2 separate regions of the Homo sapiens genome follow, and region 1 is linked to region 2. Evidence: promoter capture Hi-C in human tissues and cell types (Jung and others, 2019). All regions are on one chromosome and are shown on one strand. Each heading gives the region's core, a stretch centred on a gene start or on the middle of the fragment in contact. The rest is flanking DNA. Distances are from core to core; before and after follow the strand shown.

What was found. The method cuts DNA at HindIII sites, captures the fragments that hold promoters and counts their contacts. A contact is called where the count stands out against the background at its distance.
Region 1: a contact is called between a fragment that was not itself captured here and the fragment with the promoter of CHAF1B in region 2, in 4 of the 25 tissues and cell types used here (H1 embryonic stem cells, dorsolateral prefrontal cortex, spleen and 1 more).

Annotation. Positions count from the first base shown.
Region 1 is chr21:36,263,238-36,266,359 of GRCh38, forward strand. DOP1B (DOP1 leucine zipper like protein B) reads left to right here. Exons shown (of 37, transcript NM_001320714.2): 25 at 309-413; 26 at 511-577. Among named protein-coding and RNA genes, the nearest start is that of MORC3, 55 kb to the right of the region's middle. The HindIII fragment of the contact is 7,013 bases long and covers 1-3,122 here.
Region 2 is chr21:36,383,896-36,387,331 of GRCh38, forward strand. CHAF1B (chromatin assembly factor 1 subunit B) reads left to right here and starts at 1,497. Exons shown (of 14, transcript NM_005441.3): 1 at 1,497-1,556; 2 at 2,165-2,367. The coding sequence starts at 2,242. RefSeq lists silencers at 1,329-1,698, 1,729-1,828 and enhancers at 1,948-2,449, 2,450-2,949. The HindIII fragment of the contact is 18,705 bases long and covers 1-3,436 here.

The sequences.
Region 1 (3,122 bases), core at 275-2,774, 120 kb before region 2:
AAAAAAAAAAAAAAAAAGGCCTGAGAGGTCAAGGTCGATCATCTAATTTAAGGCTTTTATTTTAGAGACAAAGAAACCAGGAGTATCTCACCTGCCAGCAGTAGGATTTCAGGTTCTCAAACTCCAAGTGTTTGCCAGAATACCAAAGTTTAGCTCATGTACATTGTAAGTTTTTAAAAAGAAAAAGGTCAGTGAGGTATGCTGTTTACCCTTTGCTTTCCAACTGCCAGGATCTTAAATATGCTTATAAATAAATGTATTTTGACTTGTTCGTGGTTGAGTATTTTTCCTATCTTTTAAAAAAACAGGCTCCCAGTACCAGCCTTGCAAGAGAACTTTTCTTCACTGTTGGGAGTATTGAAAGAGTCTGTACAGTTGAATCTAGCCCCACCTGGGTATTTTCTGCTTCTCAGGTATCATGTCACCACATTGTCATTGTGTAATATTTTCTCTTGGCACATATTTTATTTCTGCAGCATTTTTAATCTGAAGCTGATTGTCTCCCAACAGCATGCTGAATGACTTTGTAACAAGAACTCCCAACCTGGAAAACAAGAAGGACCAAAAAGACCTGCAGGTTTGTATATGAAAGAGGTTCAGCCAAATGATATTACCCCAGCAGTGCTGTCCTCCTTTGGGGGATATCAGATAGCAGGTAGACAAGAGACATTGGACAGAATCTGAGGTTAGCTTTGCACTTGTTCTCAAGTCTTACTTCTGCCATCACTGTCTCTAGAGAGTTCGGACAGTCCCGGGGCCCGGGTTTTCTGATGAAGGTTCTTGTGTAATGCTTGAGCAATCGATTGTGGAATTGACAGCTGCACCCCTCACCCTCCACACTGTATGCAGATGTATGTGGATCTCACTGTAAAACATAAATGGAATAAGAAATCTTATTTCCCCCCAGACGCGGTGGCGCATACTTGTAATCCCAGTACTTTGGGAGGCTGAGGCGGGCAGATTGCTTAAGCTCAGGAGTTTGAGACCAATCTGGGTAACATAGTGAGACCTCATCTCTACAAAAGTACAAAAATTAGCCTAGTGTGATAGCTACACCTATAGTCCCAGCTACTTGGGAGGCTAAGGATCCCTTGAGCCTGGGAGGTTGAGGCTGTAGTGAGCTGTGATCACACCACTGCACTTCAGCCTGGCAACAGAGAGAGATCCTGTCTCAAAAAAATTTTTTAAAAAAGGAAGCTATCTCCATACATGGATATTTCTTTTTTTCTTTTTTTTTTTTTTGGGCCAGGGGGTTGGACAGAATCTCACTCCATCACCCAGGCTAGAGTGCAGTGGCACGGTCTCAGCTCACTGAAACCTCCACCTCTGGGGTTCAAGCGATTCTTCTGCCTCAGTCTCCCAAGTAGCTGAGATTACAGACATGCCACCACGCCCGGCTAATTTTTTGTATTTTTAGTAGAGGCGGGCTTTCTCCATGTTGGCTGGTCTGGTCTCAGACTCCTGACCTCAGGTGATCCTCCTACCTTGGCCTCCCAAAGTGCTGGGATTACAGACGTGAGCTACCACACCCAGCCTCCATACATGGATTTCTTTCCTTAAACGCCTTATCCCCCATTATAACAGTAATATATGCTCATAACAATTTGTTTAATACTGAAAAATAAAACTCATCATAGGAGAAGGAAAACTCAGAGTGGAATGCCAACTAATAAATACGGAAGTTATGATGAAGTTGGAAAAATCACTGTTTTGCAAACCATTATAGACATTGATTCAGTTGGCTTTTCTATCACATTTATAGCCTTGGCGATACTACTGCTAATCTTTATGATCCCTGGCATTTGTGAAAGGTATATCCAGAAACAGCCTCAGGTCCACAGTTCTGAACCACAAGAGTACTGTATAAAGTGCAGTAGGCCGTGTGCGGTGGCTCACGCCTGCAATCCCAGCACTTTGGGAGGCCAAGGTGGGCGGATCACCTGAGGTCAGGGGTTCAAGACCAGCCTGGCCAACATGGTGAAACCCCACCTCTACTGAAAATACAAAAATTAGCCATGCCTGGTGGCGGATGCCTATAATCCCAGCTACTCAGGAGGCTGAGGCAGGAGAATCGCTTGAACCTGGGAGGCAGAGGTTACAGTGAGCCGAGATCTCACCACCGTACTCCAGCCTGGGCAACAAGCGTGAAACTTCGTCTCAAAAACAAAAAACAAAAAAACAAAAACACCATAAAGCATAATTAGAAAATTCCAGTGCCTCCTCCTTTGGCCTTGACTTGTAGCCAGAGAAGAAAACGTTACAATGCCGATGCTGCACGTCCAGGTGCTGGGATAGCACTTGCTCACCTAAGCCCTCCCTGCTTTCGTGGCCTGTTGCCTGTAGCAGGCCCCTCTGTCTTCAGCCAGCCTGGACAGGGCTCTGGCCACAGGCATTCCCTCCGTTGTTGCAGCTGGCATGCCTCTTCTCTGCTCCTTTTGGTTGCGGGGACCAGGTGGCATCTGCTTCTTTCTGTCTCATGACACCTGGCCTCCCCGCCACTAATTCCTTCCTACTGTTTTGAGCGACACCCTATGCTTCTTCCCCACTGAGGATATAGAAAAAAACAAAGTGTGATTTTCCTACCACACTCTCGTAACATAGAATCCTTCTGTGACCTCGTAACCAAAATGTGTGGGAATTGCTTCCCACCAGCAACCAAGCTAGTAGTTCTGCAGTGGACACTAGATAGGCACCGTCCAATTCCATTCAATTCTGGCATTCCCCACCTAGAGATAGCTTGAGATCCTGCAGGTTGAGGGCTCAGTCCCACAAGACTGCCCCACCCCCTCAGATGCCAATCACAAGCCCCAAGTGGTTTCATCTGTGCTTTTGACAGACCAGCTCTAAACTGGGGTTCTCACTACCCACCCCTTGGGTTCTGTTAATTAGCTGGAGTGGCTGATGGAACTCAGGGAACACATTGAACAGTTTATTTTATTTATTTATTTATTTTTTTGAGACAGAGTCTTGCTCTTGTTGCCCAAGCTGGAGTGCAATGGCACGATCTCAGCTCACTGCAACCTCCGCCTCCCAGGTTCAAGCGATTCTCTTGCCTCAGCCTCCCGAGTAGCTGGGATTACAGGTGCCCGCCACAATGCCAGCTAATTTTTGTATTTTTAGTA
Region 2 (3,436 bases), core at 247-2,746:
CCTCGGCCTCCTAAAGTGCTGGGATTACAGGCGTGAGCTACCGCGACCGGCAGGAATTCTTTAGTCCAACATTTGTGGTGCAAACTTTGAGGTTTTGAACAAATACTTTTTTTTTTTTTTTTGAGAAAATATTTGACAGCCCAGGGCCTCTCTCTAGAGCCGCATCCCCTGCCCGTGTTGGCTCATCAAGTTGGCACTGAAGTCGGATCTCTAAAATGTTCGCCAAGAAAGCCAACTCCTTCATGTACTTTTAATACTTAAAGCATGTGTTTTTATCTTTTAAATCCACAGTTCAGAGTCGTGACACTTCAAGAGGTGGGCAGATTATTCATTTGTGAATGAACAGCATTTATGAGAAATTTGGAGAAATTTTATGTTTGAGAGACACGAAGAATCCAGAGCTTTCCAAAACAGACTGATGATCACACCCACCGGGGAGTTTATGAAAATGCAAGCCCCTGGAGCACGGGCCTCTGCTGGATATTCGGAATCATGGGGCTGAGTAGGGCCAGGAATCTGTACTTTTAGAACAGCCATATTATCTAAAGTATATAGTCATTCCCAGTCCAAGCTCTGTAAATCCTGAAGAGAAAAATCTAAAAACTGCATATCCGGATTATGTTATTCTAGCTTCCTGTAGAAATCAGGCTTCAAGGAGCATACAGCCATTCTCATCAACATGAGACACGGATTTGTAGGCAATTTCTGTACCTTTCATAAAGCTGGCTAAAAGCATCAGCCGGTATTTATATAAGAATCCATGTCTGTTCTTTTTTTCCAAAAATCCTAGAGCAGTTGGCTCCTCAGATAACCCTGTGTGTTTCTTTTATCCAGTAAAAGCAGCGCATCCAGAGGTACTTGTTTCCTGGCCTTCTGCGAAGCCCACAGATAAATTAGGTCTCATTTGGAAACGTCCCATTTCGAAAAGCCTGAGGTATCTATCTCTGCCTACCGACTGATTTACAGCCTCACTTTAAAATGTTAGTCTGTTCTTAAAAAGGGTTTATAACTGCATCTACTATAATAATAAAATGTAAGCAACCTTGCGCTAGGTACTGAACAATTTCATAGCTTTGAACTCTCCAAAATGTTCTAGAAGCCAATACAGAAAACCCAAAAATCTCAGTTTTTGTTTGCAGAAGGGGCAAGAGAACCGGTTGTGTTAGCCCTCCAAGTGCCCAGCGCCAGCATAGGGTCTGTCTAACACACAGCCCAGGCTCTGTAAACCTTTGCTAAAAGAGCGAATCAACAAGGAATAAGTAATGGATAATAATAATAAATAATAATGAATCCATTCTTCCTTCGGTCGTGGGTCTGGCAGGCATAAATTCCGGCCGGGATTCCGACCCCAGGGCCAGAGCAGGACTCGCCTTGGCGTCTATGAGTGGGCGGGGCTTCCCTGGGGTACCGCCCACGTCGGGCGGGACCTGAGGGCCGCTGGAGGGGCGGGGCGTCTATGAGGTCCCGCCCATGCGGGGGCGGGGCCTGCGGCGCGCGGGAAGCGGCGCGCGCTGCGCGGGAGGTGACGGTGCCTCTGACTGTCCGGGTCCCTCCAGGTACGGCTTCCCTGGCCCGGGCAGCTCCGCGGCTCTTTTGGTCGCGTCGGTCCGGGCCAGAGGCCCTCGCCGAGGGCGGGCCCCTGGGCCCCGGGATAGCTCCGGAGCGGCGCGCGTTGGGGCGGCGGGGCCCCGTCCACCCCCGGCCCCGCGCGGCCTCCTCCCGGCGGCCTCAGTCCCAGCTTCCCGGGCCCAGCGCCCGGTCCCTGGGAAAGGCGGGGTTCTCCTCTCGCCCCGCCGCCCCGGTCCCCTACCCCGTTTGGCCCCCTCTTCCGGGAGGCTCCTCCCGGGGCGGGCCCCTCCCCGGGCTCTCAGGGCGCGCCCCTAGCCCCTACTAAGCGGGGACAGGCCGTGCAGACGGCCGGGGCCCCTAGGTAGCCTTTACCTGGGTGTTTCGTTTTGCTTTTCTGGATGTAGCGGCGTATCATAAACTTGTGGATGTCAGGACCCAGCGAAGCATTTTAGGTGGAGCTAGCAAGGTGTTATTGTCAGATGGCAACGTTAACATCCTTTCCCAATGCAGTGTGCATTTTAAATGGCTCCTGGCCCCTATTCAGCGCTCAATAACCCTTTGCTGCTGTTAACACTGTTGTTTAATCCATCACCAGCATTTTGCAGCTTTCTCCTGTCTTGAAGAAGTAGAACGGTGCCCGAGAAACGTTTTTCCCCTTCGAGACTCAGGAGGATGAAAGTCATCACTTGTGAAATAGCCTGGCACAACAAGGAGCCCGTGTACAGCCTGGACTTCCAGCATGGGACGGCTGGGAGGATCCACAGACTGGCGTCTGCCGGCGTGGACACCAATGTCAGGGTAAACTGGGGCAGAGATAGACATCCGGGAACACTGCTTGAAGCAATAGTTTTCATTCTTTTACTTAAAACCAGTGTCGGCTGGGCGCGGTGGCTTACGCCTGTAATCCCAGTGCTTTGGGAGGCTGAGGTGAGAGGATCGCTTGAGTCCAGGAGTTCGACACCAGCCTGGGCAACAGCCAGACATGAAAAAGTAGCGGGACGTGGCAGTGTGCAGCTGTAGGCCCAGCTACTTGGGAAGTTGAAGTGAGAGGATCGCTTGAGCCTAGGAGTTTGAAGCAAGCAACGATCACTCCACTGCACTCCAGCCTGGGTGACAGAGCCAGACCCTTCTCTTAAGTAAATGAATGAATGAATTAACGTATGTCAACAAACTAAACTACTTTGTCATCTAGCCCAGAATGCTAAATTTCCAGGGCCTGCGGTGAACAATGAAAGCAAAAGAGAGCTGCTTTCTTTTTTTTTTTTTTGAGACGGAGTCTTGCTCTGTTGCCCAGGTGGGAGTGCAGTGGTGCAATCTCGACTTACTGCAACCTCTGTCTCCCAGGTTCAAGCTATTCTCCTGCCTCAGCCTCCCAAATAACTGGGACTACAGCCGCTCATCACCACACCTGGCTAATTTTTGTATTTTTAGTAGAGATGGGGTTTTACCATGTTGGCCAGGCTGGTCTCAAACTCCTGACCTCAGGTGATCCACCCACCTTGGCCTCCCAAAGTGCTGGGATTACAGGCCTGAGCCACCATGCCCGGCTCTGCTTTCTTATTTGATTCATTTTCCCTAGATTATTGTAACTGGACGTTCATTGTTTTGGGATCCTGATCCTGGTTCCTACTGGGTAACAAGTTGCTCTAGAAAGAAGGCGGAGGGGGACAGTAGACATTTATGTTTTAGATAGGGAGTTCTTTGATTTTATGTTTCAAAAGAAAAACTAAGTTTTCTTTCTGAAAATAAGCATAGTTTTGTTTTTTTTTTTTTTTTGAGACAGGGTCTTACTCTGTCGCCCAGGCTGGAGTGCAGTGGCCTGATCTTGGCTCAGTGCAGCCCCGACCCGGGGCTCAAGTGATCCTCC